Linked DNA regions of Homo sapiens: all the other regions are linked to region 2. Evidence: promoter capture Hi-C in 16 types of primary human blood cells and fetal thymus (Javierre and others, 2016). All regions are on one chromosome and are shown on one strand. Each heading gives the region's core, a stretch centred on a gene start or on the middle of the fragment in contact. The rest is flanking DNA. Distances are from core to core; before and after follow the strand shown. Region 1 has its middle 190 kb from the start of LINC02864. Region 2 holds the start of NETO1 (neuropilin and tolloid like 1). Region 3 has its middle 160 kb from the start of LINC02864.

Region 1 (4,171 bases), core at 978-3,477, 210 kb before region 2:
ATTAAGACAACTTAAATATTATCATTAGTATAAAGTGACTTAACTGATATAAGATCTTAGGATAGTGCTTGGCACAAATTTTCATATTGGTGTTTGCTCTTACTAGTATTTTTATGGTTGTAATTACTTTGGTCTCTCAAATAATCAATTTATTTATCTATTTACTTATTGCTAATATGCTTCCTTTTTGATGGTAAGTGATTATTACAATTTAATTGAACTCAATCATCTAATATTTTGATAAACACTAGAAAGATTAAATTATCTAGACATGCTATTCATGTAATAAGAAATGATGTTAACTAGAATAATATAAACATCGGTTGCCTATAATGGGCAAAATAACATGCCAGTCCCTAGAGGGTGATAAAAAATTATATCATTATTTACTAGGTGTCCAATCCATGTTTGTTTATGAAATAAACAAAATATAATCACATTCTCAAAGGAGCAGAATATCCATGCTGGACTATGTTTATCTCCGCAGTCACCTTCCCTGTGGCCAGTGCTGCCATAATCACCTTTGCAGGCCTAGAGACCCTGGTCTTACCTACACTGTGTATCTCTTGGTTCCACCCTGGATCTCCTTGGCTTCCACTGTGCATTGATGAGATGTCTGGGGGAGCATCTTCAGCCTCATAGCAGGAGTGGAGAATTTCACACCACTGGGCTGATGCCTAAGGTGCCCAGCAACACGGAGCCCATTGCCTGCTGTTCAACAAAGTATGCTGGGCTGGACTGTCTCTCCTTCCAGACTCCATGTTTCCCCATCTCCTGATAACATACCTGCCTACAAGTTTTCGTCTCAGGTTGTGTATTTTGGGAAAACTGAGCATAGTGTCAAATACAGAAACTATACATGTCTAAAACACCTCAAAGAGTAAAAACATATGGGAATTTTTTGAAGGTTAACTCCAGAAAACCAAGTCAGGGTCCAAATAGGAAGAGTAGTCTTGGGTGCAAAGTTCAGTCTGCAATGATTCTCAAGCTATCTTCCATATGTAGGGACAAGGCGATGACCCAAAGAGAGACAGGCAGCAATAGATAAAAAGGAAGTGAAGAACATTATACAATAGTTTTGCAACTTCCATGTGGTATTGAGGCCTCAATAATACCCGAGGTCTTCATAAAACTGGAGCAGCTCCACTTACAAATATTCAGTGGGGGCAGAGGTAGGTTTCTAGCACTTTAATTTCACATATTTATGGAATCTGTTTTTGTTGTTTTAAATTAATTTAACATTTTAAATAATAAACTATTTTAACCTGATACAAAATATGTGAAAAAGGGGGAATAAAGAACGCAGGAAGCTTTTGAGTGAATGTAAATCTTCATTATCCTTGTTGTGGCAATGATGGAAACAAGTGTATTCCTATGTAAAAGCTTATCAAACTGCATTTTTAAATAAATACAGTTATGTCATTTAACCCTTAATAATACTGTTTATGAAAAGATTAAAATGGGACTGTCTCAAAAAAGAAAAAGGAAAAGATATGTGAAGTTACCTGGTATCTACACATAATAAATATTAATATTTTCACATTTTCCATATTTGCTTTAAACATTATTTTCAATGAATTGAAATATTAGCTGTGAAAAATGAATTTTTCAATGAATTATAAACAGCTATAGACATAACTAAAACTCCATCTCCCCAAATTTTTTTTCTCCATCTTCCGTAGTGGTTAGCCACTTGTAAAGCTGCTACTTGTCATCCCAGCATATATATTGTAATATTACTACATATTAATGCATCCATAAAAATATGTGGCATTTTTAATAAATTACATGGATTATACATTTGCTTACTCATTCATTTACTCAACATACGTGTACTCTGCACTTCCTCTATACAGGCATTATTCTAAACAGCTGGTATAAATCAATTAACAAACAAGAAAAATGTCTACTCTTACAAAACTTGGCTTTCAAAGCAATATAACGTGTTACAATGTAGGTTTGCTTATAGTCACATAACTTGGAACCTTATAAAGTGTAAAGCGCCAACTGTTTTATGCCCCGCACTGAAGCAGGCTATGAAGTGGCAGCCATAGCAGGAGATGAAAGTTTGCCTGCTGGCAACACTGAGATTAAGGGTGTTGCCTATTCATCTAAACCCATTGTTTCAATTACCCACTAGGAACTAGCCTAAATTTGAAAGAGGGTGATACCACAGAGCACGGAAGCTAAATGAAAGACACCTATGTGATTAGATCTAGATATGATGTTTTGTTATGATGAGCTGAATAACATTTGATACTTGAAACCAATCAGACCCACAGCTTGCTAGACTCTTGCAGGGTTAAGTACTGCCAAAGCACCCCTAAACCTGGTTTGCAACTGTCCATGACTCTTAATCCCCTAAAATAATCCCCATGTCCCTAAACTCTCACCAAGAGGACGGGTTCAAAGGCTGTATCCTCTGAAGTTCCCTTGTGTGCTGTGGCCAAGGAAAGTGAAGGCAAGGAAGGATCCCCTGAAATGGACAGCCAGAGCCACAGGCAGAAACCACAAGGGAGTTTTGCTAAATGGCACAGTTAGGACAAAGCACAGAGACTCCCTGCCATGCCAGCAAGGAGTCTTCCCTATATCAGTCCAGTGAGATGCCAGCAGCCGTGGAGAAGGGAGTGATGTGTGTTTTCCATGTTCCACCTTCTAGCAGTCCATCGTATTTGCAGATCCCAGTTTTCTGCCATTGTCGGTTCAGAGGTGAGAATTATTGTTCTTTTAGATTATAGCTTGTCAGACAAAGAGAACATGCATTTGTACTTGAGGAAGAAGATTATACATCATCCAGGGCTACAATTTGAGCTGGGACATAAGATACTTAGAAGAGTGGGTCATGAGAAGATTTTAGGAAAAGGAAGGCCAAGAATAGTAACTGCAAAATCTTAGAAGAAGAAATATGTTTTTGTGTGTTAATTTTAGAGGAATAAATATGCTTTTTGTATATTCCTTTTCTTTTTTCTTCTATTTTTAAGAATGAAAAATTATCCAGAGCACACGGAACAAAGAAGGGAGCATGAAATTGTGACACCAAAGTAGGGATTTGCATCCTCTGAGAAGCTTAGGTTCCATTTGTGTAAAGGAAAGCACACACACAAAAAATTGCAATGCAAAGTGTACTTGGTGTCATACAAGGAATGGTTTTTAATGGGCAGGAAGGAAAGCAAAGAGAGACCCTTGCAAAACTGAGGTCCATACCTCAGTGAGAAAGGTTATGGTAGTTTTACCTACAGTTAGTGGTATTGAAGATGGAGAGAAAGGGAATAAAATTTGTTACTCAATTGGGTATGAGAGATGTAGGGAAGAATCTAGATTCATAGGTTTAGGAGTTGAGCAAAATGAGGCCACCGCTTATTCAAATGAAGGTGCCAAGAAAAGTCAGGTGTGTAGGGATTAGGAGGGGTGGAACTGAGAGAATTTTATGTTTTGGATACATTAAAGGTAAGATTCCTTTTAAACACTGCACTGGAAATGCCAAGCAGGTATTTTGGTAATGTTAACACATCGTCGCATAGTCTTTAAAGCCACGCATGGCAATACTATTGCTTAAATAAAAATGTGTATAGAAAAGAGCAGAAATCTCAGAATAAAATTTTGGAGACTCTATTATTTAGAGTTTGGTAAGATTGGTTTGATAACAGTCTTCTAAGAGACTAAAAGGAGTATACAGGAGGAAATTCAAAAGGAAAGGAAATACAGCAAAATGTAATCTTTCAGAAGGCAAGATCTTTTCAAGTAAGAGATGGTACTGAGAGACTGAGAAACAAGACAACTAACAAAACGCAGTGATATGAGTGGCAGGGAGATAATGGAACTTGATGACAGGGTTTTGTAAAATGCAAAGTTCAGCAACTGGATCAGAGATGAATGAAGAGAGAATTTAAAAAAAAAGAAGTGGACATCATCTGTGTGTGGACAAATTGTTCTGTAAGGGGAAAAGGGAAATAGGTTGATTGTGAAAAGAGATGTGGGGTCAAGGGTACTTTAATGCAGTAGAAGGTGGAGCATGTTTTACATACTGATAGCAGTGTTCCAGGAGAAGACAAATAATGGAGGAAGCAAAATGGAGGCTGGTAGATGGGCACCTTCCTGTCCTTGGAACACACAGATTCTAGTTGGCTTTCAAGTCATTTTTTCATCTAGTTTAAACCTTTTTTTGGTAATA
Region 2 (4,366 bases), core at 1,867-4,366:
TCTCTTGGTTGATTATCAGAGCACCTGAGCTAGCCAGGCCTCTGTCCTGTCCTAGGTCCAGAACGTGCACACTCACTCCCTCAGCACTGAGGTTTCAGCAAAATTTAATGCCTCAGCCCCACGCATTGCCCGAGAAAGCACTGGGCATTAAAGATCAGCGGGAGGCCACAGGATCACTTTTGGCCAGGAGTCTGAGAACAGCATGGGTAACATGGCTAGACCCCCTCTCTAAAAAATATAAAAAATAAAAGAATTAGCCAGGCATGATGGCCTGTGCCTGTAGTCCCAGTTACTCCAGAGGCTGAGGTGGGAAGCTCAGTTGAGCCCAGGAAGTTGGGGCTGCAGCAAGCTGTGATCCAGTCACTGCGCTCCAGCCTTTAATTCATTAAAAAAAGAAAAAAAATGGAGACCACTGTTTATGCAAGATATTTGATTTCAAATACAGGCGTGGACAAAAGGTTAGGACCCTTTCACCTTCCTTATGAGTTCCTTCCTAATTTCCTGTGTCCCATAAAAGGACTACTTGTTTAGCAACGTAGCCCCTTCCTTGGCAGGTTACAAAATCCCAGTGTCCTGGGAAACTGTTCTGGGCAAAGAGGACAGAAGAGGGCAGGTGAATGAGAGCATTTATGGTAAAACCAAGTTTTCTCTGCCTTCAAACTGTGATTGAGAAATGCAGTAACTTTCTACAAATAATTTTAAATGTTGCCACTTTCTTTGTAGAACTGTGTCATCTTCACGAATAACGCATATTTTGGATGTAAAGAAAGTGCCATCCAACCATAAGAAAGATTCCAACATTCAACTGTCAACTCTTGCGACTGGTCCTTTTGCAAGACCTCCACCCTCTCCTCTATAGATGACCCGGATCCCCAAAAGCGTTTTCCAAGCATTCTGTCATCTGCATATCCCTCTGTTGAGCAGCCTCACTGATCTTTGAACTCTTTTGCTTCCTTAAGGCTGGAGAATTTCTTCCTCAACTCCACGACGAACATTGCCCACCACCTCCCACCCCGCGCTGGCACGAGCACCTCACGTGGGTCACAGGACTCCCGCGGGACCTTCTGCGTGTTTCCCCTTGATCTTTTTACAAGTAGGTGCGTGGGCGGATACTCACCAATCTCCCTTCATCCGCTCACCTCTCTCCCTTTGCTCAAGCTTGCAGCTCCTCTCACAGGCCTCCAGCTCTGCTGGACTTGGCGTATTCAGAGGCGCGCAGCCTCTCTGTCCTCTTCCCTCTCCCCCATTTCTTCTGTCCTCCGCCTTCTCGTCTCCCTACTCTCTTCTGTCCCCTCATTCTCTCTCCTGCCTCTCTTTTCTCTCCCCGCTCCTCTTTTCCCTTTCTTCTCTCTCTCCTTTCTCTCTCTCTTACCCTGTCCATGTCTTCCCCCTTCTCTCAGCTTTCTCTCTTTAGGTCTCCATCTCGCTCTACTCCCGGGTTGACCCATGACCCAACTTTCATTACACGGATGCACAACACGCGCGCGCGTATATGCGCGCGCACACACAAACACACCATCCCCTTTGCTCGGTCACTTTACCCCACCCTGGAAATCGAGGAACCAGCACTTTGGTGTGGTGGTAGGAGGCTTGGGGGCGCGTGTGAGACTCTGAATCCCTTCCAGACTTGGGGGTCACCTCATCGTCCCTCATCCCAACTTACTGGCAGGAGACCTCCACCCACTCACAGCCGCTGCGCTAGGCGTGGGCAGGACTGCGACGAGCACCCAACGCCCCGCGCAGCCCCGCGCGCACGTGGGCGCCCCAGCAGCAGGTGCCGGGAAGCGGAGGCCGGGCCAGAGCCGGGAGGCAGCCCCCCGGCCTCGAGCGCTCGCCAGACTCTTCTCATGGCCCTTTCTCCTTTCCTCGGCCTTTCGGGGCCACCCTAGTCTTCACAGCTCAGCGTCTGCTGCTGACCCCCCGCCCCCCGGCGACCCCGCCATTGCCATTAGCTCTTCCTACCCCGGCTTCTTCGCCGCCACAGTCCCCAACCCAAGCCCCAGCCGCGGCGCGGGTGTGGGTGGCCGGACGGGATGGCTTCCGTAGTCCCGGGGTCCGGCGGGCTCGGCTGTGGTCTGCGTGGGTCGCGTCCGCAGAGGCCGAGGGAGGGCGGGACGGAGCCGGGAAAGGGAGGAGGTGCCGTTGCGGCGCCCAGGGAGGGACTCCCTGCACCCCCGCGCGCTCCAGCCCTTCCCGGCGCTGCCTCGCGGTTGCCCTTATTTCGTATTCATTGATTCGCATTTTACAAGCCCGGGCTCTTCCGGTGCTGTTTCCCCGCAACTCGTGTCTCCCAGACTTTAACGCGCCGCGCGAGCCTGTAGGAGGAAGTGGCGCGGGGGAACGGGGGTCCGTGTGTGCCTTGGGGTGGTTTTAAATACCTCGAGGTGGGGGGCTCAATTGCAAGAAGCCCGCGTCTTTGCAGGAGTAATTTGGTGGGGGGACTGGACATCAGGCCCAGTGCTCAACCGCGAAACTTTTACGGCCGCCTTTCCCTGGGGCGCGCCCCTGCCGTGTCTCCCAAGCTGAGCGCGGAGTCCGCGGCGAAACCTGCGCCCCAGGGAGGGAGGGAGAGGGGGCGCCCAGTTCCTTTACGCGGATGGAAAAGAAGGGGTGGGAGGCAGAGAGCCCGCAAGGTCTAACCTTTAAAAAGTGAAACACCAAACCCCACAAGGGATTTTCACACGAAGGCCCCTCCCGCTTCCACGCCTTCCGTCCGGCACGAGGATCCGGCTCGGGATTTGCGGCTGCATCCTCTCTCTGCGCCCTGGCGGGCCGAGCCGCGGATCCCAGCCGGGTCCTCACCCCCTCCCCGCCCCTCCCCCAGATCCGCGCGGCTGGGATGTCCTTGCTGCCGCCGCCGCGGCCCCATTCTGCCGCGCACCAGCCCCGGGGCGCCGGCCGCGCGCAGCCTCGCTATCCCACCCAGGCTCCGGGCTTCCAGGAGGGTCGTGGAGCCCCAAGCCATGACTAAGGAGCCCATTTGGTAACTCTGCCCTCTTCCGGCTCCTTTCTCCTCCCTCCCTTCCCCGCCCCCCGGCCCCCCCCCCGGCCGCCCCGCTCCCCTGCACCGCCCTCCAGCCCGCCTCCCAGACGCCCACCCACCCGCTCCTCTTTCCGCAAGATAGCAGAGGTGGCGCGCAGCCCGGCGAGCCGATGACGGACCCCTTCTTCCTGCCTTCAATGCCTCAGCGGAAGATCCCCAAGGGCTGGAGCGAGGAGCGCTGCCGCTGGACATCCTCCCGGGGAGGCTGCTCCGACCTGCTGCGCGGCGCGTCTGAGACTGGGGACTGAGCCACCCCGCCGCCGCCGGCGCCGCCGCCGCCGCCCGCTCCGTCGCTGCCGTCGGTCTGGACTGGCCCCCACCTCGCTGCGCCCTCTCCCCGGCCCCGGCCCCGGCTCGGGGCGTCCCGGGGCTCGCCCTGCGACCGCCGCCTCCCGCGCGCCGCGTCCTCCCGACCCCGCGGCGGCGACGATGCCCGGGAGGAGGGTCCTGACGGCGGCGGCGCGGATGGTGGCGGCCGGCGCCCGGGTGTGATGCGAGCGTCACGGTGGGGATGCTGCTGGCTGCGCGGCGCTGAGGGCCAGCGAGAGCGAGAGCCCGCCCGGGGCGGAGGACGGACTCATCCGGATCTGGCTGCAGCGTGGGCTCGGAGCTCCCCCTTCCTCTCGGTCTCCCTCTCGGCCCCCCTTTATTTCCTTCTTGCTTTGCGTCTTTAACACCTCTCGACCCTGTCCTCCCCCCGCCACTGGAAGTCTTCCCGTCTCTAAATGGAATTAGTGGAGCCCGGAGCCTCTGGTGTAACGCACAGACATGATCCATGGGCGCAGCGTGCTTCACAGTGAGTACCCTCCCCGCCGCGCCCGTGCGCTCCCGGAGCCAGCCCTCCCGCCCCTTTCCCGGGGCCGAACGCGCAGGAAAAGCCTCTGCGCCGCGCTCCGGCGGACCCTGCAGTCCCGCGCGGGTCGGGGCCGACGTAAACTTTCTGTATTGCAGCATCGTGGAACCGGGCGTGGGGGCGGCGCGCGGTCAGCCGTCGCCGGATCCCAAAACCTGCCGGAGAACGGTCTTTCAGTGCGCAGGAACCCCCCGGGGGTGGAGGATAGCGTGCAGTTCAGGGATGGACACGTGCGGCAGAGATTGGCCCAAGCGAGGGCGCAGGTGGAAAGCGGGAGAGCGCGGATGATACCTAGTGGGGCCAGAGGAGTCTTCCTCTTCTAGGGGCTCCCGGAGCTCGGCGGGCCCCTGTTCGCAGTACAGGAGGTAGCAGAAGGCACACCTGAAGCCAGCGCTGGAGGGAAGGGCGAGGGTCAGCTTCCACCCCTTTCCGCCCTGGAGACCGCTGATGTCGCTTTATGGGTGTGTGGT
Region 3 (4,588 bases), core at 1,047-3,546, 240 kb before region 2:
AACTGATTCTGAAGTTTGTGTAAAGAGACAAAAGATACGAAATAGTCAACTCAATACAGGAAAAGAACAAAGTTAGAGGCTGACAGTACTCATCTTCAAGATCTACTATAAAACTGCACTAATCAAGATTGTGTGCTATTGGTGAAAGAATAGGCAAGTAAGTCAATGGAACAGAGTAGAGAGCCCAGAAATAGAACCACGTGAATATAGTCCACTCATCTTTGACAAGAAAGCAAAGGAAACTTAATGGAGCAAAGACAATCTTTTCAACAACTGGTGCTGGAACAACTAAATATCCACAAGGAAATAAAATAAATCTAGATAGAGACCATTCAAAAAATTAATTCAAAATGGATCTTAGTCCTATGTGTAAAACACAAAACTATGTAACTTCTACAAGATAACAACAGAAAAAATTCTAACTGACTTTGGGTATACTGATGTCATTTTAGATACAATACCAAAAGGTATTGGTTATCAAGGTAACATGATAAGCTAGACTTCATCAAAATTAAAAATGTTTGCTTTGTGAAAGGCAATGTCAACAGAAATAAAAAAAAAACTACCTACTTGGAGAAAATATTTTCATAAGATCATTTGAAGTATTGCTATCCATGTCTCCAAAAGCTCTTAAAACTTGTTTATAATAAAATGAACAACATGATTTAAAAATGGGTCAAACTGACTGACCAACATGGAGAATCCCCGTCTCTACTAAAAATACAAAATTAGCCTGGCGTGGTGGCACATGCCTATAATCCCAGATACTCGGGAGGCTGAGGCAGGAGAATCACTTGAACTCGGGAGGCGGAGGTTGCGGTGAGCTGAGATCACCTGATTGCACTCCAGCCTGGGCAACAAGAGTGATACTCTGTCTCATTTAAAAAAAAAAAAATTGGCCAAACTATTCAACAGATATCTCACCAAAGAAAATATACACATGGAAAATAAGGATAGGAAAAGATGTACCACATCTTATGTCACTAGGGAAATGCAAATTAAAACAACATTGAGATACCATTACACATCTATCAGAATTGCCAAAATTTAGAACCAAATGCTGATGAGAGTGTGTAACAACATAAACTGCATTTATTGTTGGCGGAGACACATAGTGGTACAGTCCCTTTGGTACTATGTGGCAGTTTCTTAAAAAACTAAGCATGCTTTGGCCATACAGTTCAGAAATCTCAGTTCTTGATATTTACTCACTTGATTTAAAAGCTTATGTCCAAACGAAAGTGTATACACAGATGTTTATGGCAGATCTATTCATGATTTCCAAAACTGGGAAGCAACCGATATGTCCTTGAGCGGTTAAATGGATAATCTGTGGTGCATTCAGGAAATGAAATATTATTCAGCACTAAAAAGAAATGAAATATCAAGTAATAAAAAGATATGGAGGGACTTTACATGCATATTACTAAGTGAAAGAAGCCATTCTGAGAAGACTACATAATGTATAATTCCAACTATATGGCATTCTGGAAAAGACAGAGGTGTAGATACAAAAAAAAAAAAATAACTGTGGTTGCTAGGGAGTCACAGAGAGAGGGCTGAATAGACAGAGGGCAGAGGATTTTTAGGACAGTAAAAATACTGCATTTAACACAATGATGGGTATAAGTCGTTATACATTTGTTTAAACCCATGGATGTACACAGATTGAATCCTTATGTGATCTAGAGACTATGGTGATTATGATGTGTCAATGTAGGTTCATCAACTGTAGCAAATGCACCACTGTGGTAGGGGATGTTGATAATGGAGGAGGCTCCACATGTGTTGGGGCGAAGGGCATGTGGGAAATGTTTGTACCATTCTCTTAATTTTGCTATGAACTTAAAACTGCTCAAAAAACAAAGAATTTTAAAAATATTTAATTTTTATTTTTAAAGGTAGTTAAACCCATTGAAGCTTTATAACTGGATTTGAGTCTTATGACTTTCAGTAATAGGGTTATCTTGGGCAAGAACTAAAATTTCTGTGCCTCAGTTTCCTCATCTGTAAAATGGGTAAAACAAATCTGTTTCTGAAGACTCTTTGGGTTATTAATTAATCAGTATCAATGCTTAGAATATTATATATGTAATTAATGCTGCTTCTATTATCACCATCATTATTATTATTTTTGAAAATGGGGTAGAACTAACTATCCCTAGGGTTTTTGTGTAAATAATTGGATAAAACAAAATGGAGTAATTAGCACAATACCTCGTGTTGACTCATTCAATAAAAACTTTTTTTCCTCTTTGTGTAGTTCACGCGAATATTTTTAATTCTTCTCATCTTTCCATTTAATGTTACTCTGTGACTTCAGATTTCAAATATTTCTACACATATAAAATCAAATGCATCACTTGTCAAACCAATCCCTCCTCTAAGTTTTTGTGTTTGTCAATGGCATCTCTTGTTTATTTATTTTGAAATATCAAATTCATATTTACTTTTGTATGTTCTCTCTCAATTTTATCTACTCTATCCCTGAGTCCTACAATTTGTAATTATTTTCTCTATTTTTTGAAACATTTTGAGATGTATCTTTTCTCCTCTGTTCTACTGAGAACAACAGTAATAGCTAATATAAACAATGTACTAATTAAGACATTTTTGTTGAATATTGATAAAGTTAATATTTTCGTATAAAGATTAAAATGGATATAAGCTTTTGGAATGAAAGATACTAAAATATTGGATTAATGTCAGTGAGAAATGGTTTTTAAATAGTAACATTTAACTGTTTGAATGAATCAGACAATATGTAATAGTTGGGTAGTCTTTAACAGTTGCTTTTGAGAGGCAATGCAATATTGGAGACTGAAAAGCACATAATTTTATATCTGAGAACTTGATTTTGCATTCAAGGTTTGAAATTTTTGTGTTTTTTGGAGGCGTGGTCTTGGGCCTGGAAAATAACCTGCCTCAGATACAGTTTTCCCAAGGGAAAAGTAAAGATATTTGTAAAACCTGCAGAATAAAATGTGCAATGCAGATTATTGACTTGTTGCGAGGACCAAATATGTAATTAGAACCCTTGACATGTTGTATGTAATTATTCAGAAGCACTGCAAATTACCCTTGCGAAGAAGGTTTTTTTTTTAAAAGTGTTACATTAGAAGTCTCATGATTCATAACTCTGCATGAATATGAGATTTGTTACTTTCCCGTCCATGACTCAAGAAAATGGCTCTTCACATTCACTTTACTGAGAAAAATACCTGACTTGTCTTTTGTGCTCCTTGCTTCAGTAAACTGCGCTACCCATTTGCTCAAACATATCCCTTTCTCCATCATTATCTCTCACATGAATTACTGCAATAGTTTCCTGTCTGGAAATTATACTTTAGTCTCTTTTCAATCTTTTTTCCACCCAGCAGTTTTTGTTCACTTTATTAACCAAAATTGAAAGTGTTGATGCACTATTTAAAACATTTCAAATTTCCCCATTTCTCACGGAATAGTGTATAAAGTTTTATGTATGGCTTTAAAAGATACTTCCTGACGTGACAACTGCATAACTCTTTTAGACTCATCTATTGCTACATACTTTCTTAAACTTTATAATTCAGACATGCCTAAAATGGATAATTATTTTTCTTTCCAGATTTTTCACATGCTATCCACAGCGCCTAGAGATCCAAGCTTTTGTGAACAGGGGCTGACTTGTGAATGTGAACAAGCACAACGGAAAGCTAGGGATCAAGGGTGGGGCGCCTCTGAATTCTGCACTAGAATATGCCCAATCAAAAGCATAGCTGCAGAGTGCAAAATTGTCTGTCTCACTATGGAAGACTGCTTGTCAATAGCAAATGGAGGGGCAGAATAGAGCAAAGGCAGCCCTCAACTGATCAAACTTTTAACTTTTCTCTAAAAACATCCTTTGGAAATAGGTCTATTTCCCCTTTAACAGAATAAACTGCAGGAATTGTTGGACAATGGGTGCATTTGGAAGAGCCACGCGGGAGCACTGAGAAGTGAAATGATCCAGCTCCAAAAATAAAGGTGATACACGTTAAAGTAATAAATTGGAAAAAATAAAATAGATGCAACTCTTAGTTCGCATATCTGGAAAAGCTGGTTATATTGCAAAGACCTTATTGAGAATATTTATGTATATGTGCTACGCATAATAAAGCATTTTGTAACTTACAAAGCATCTTAACAATATTGTTATGGTTAATTTTTATGAGACAAAACTCTATACTTATTGCTGTCTACAAGGGTATATAACACAATCCAAAATTCGAATGAACTCATTGAACAATATTAAGGTACATTTTAAGAAATAGTTGCCTTGTATATCTTTCAAATGAAATTTTGCATCCTGTGGAATTAGAAACGTATGTTCAATAATGACAATGCTAAAGTAAAGTGGTTTGAAATTATCTGTTCATGTTAACACCCAAATCAACAGTAAACTCCCTTCCCTCCTCAATGCAGCATTTCACTTGATAATTAGCAGCTGTATGCTAATTACATTGGGAGCTCTTGATTTCCTGAGTATGCTAATTTAAAGTTCTTTTGAGTGGTGACTTTGTTTCATGGAAGCCCAAAATATAAGCCATATAGAATACGCTATACAGCA

The links. The method cuts DNA at HindIII sites, captures the fragments that hold promoters and counts their contacts. A CHiCAGO score of 5 or more calls a contact.
Region 1: a fragment that was not itself captured here is called in contact with the fragment with the promoter of NETO1 in region 2 in 2 of 17 cell types (total B cells and naive B cells); the score reaches 7.0 in total B cells.
Region 3: a contact is called between a fragment that was not itself captured here and the fragment with the promoter of NETO1 in region 2, in 1 of 17 cell types (total B cells). The highest score is 5.2, in total B cells.

Annotation. Positions count from the first base shown.
Region 1 is chr18:73,077,002-73,081,172 of GRCh38, reverse strand. No RefSeq gene overlaps it. Among named protein-coding and RNA genes, the nearest start is that of LINC02864, 190 kb to the left of the region's middle. The HindIII fragment of the contact is 1,683 bases long and covers 1,386-3,068 here.
Region 2 is chr18:72,866,737-72,871,102 of GRCh38, reverse strand. NETO1 (neuropilin and tolloid like 1) reads left to right here and starts at 3,116. Exons shown (of 11, transcript NM_138966.5): 1 at 3,116-3,839. The coding sequence starts at 3,812. It overlaps NETO1-DT (NETO1 divergent transcript), which reads right to left and starts at 2,715. Exons shown (of 2, transcript NR_134648.1): 1 at 2,641-2,715. The HindIII fragment of the contact is 9,933 bases long and covers 1,161-4,366 here.
Region 3 is chr18:73,102,782-73,107,369 of GRCh38, reverse strand. No RefSeq gene overlaps it. Among named protein-coding and RNA genes, the nearest start is that of LINC02864, 160 kb to the left of the region's middle. The HindIII fragment of the contact is 748 bases long and covers 1,923-2,670 here.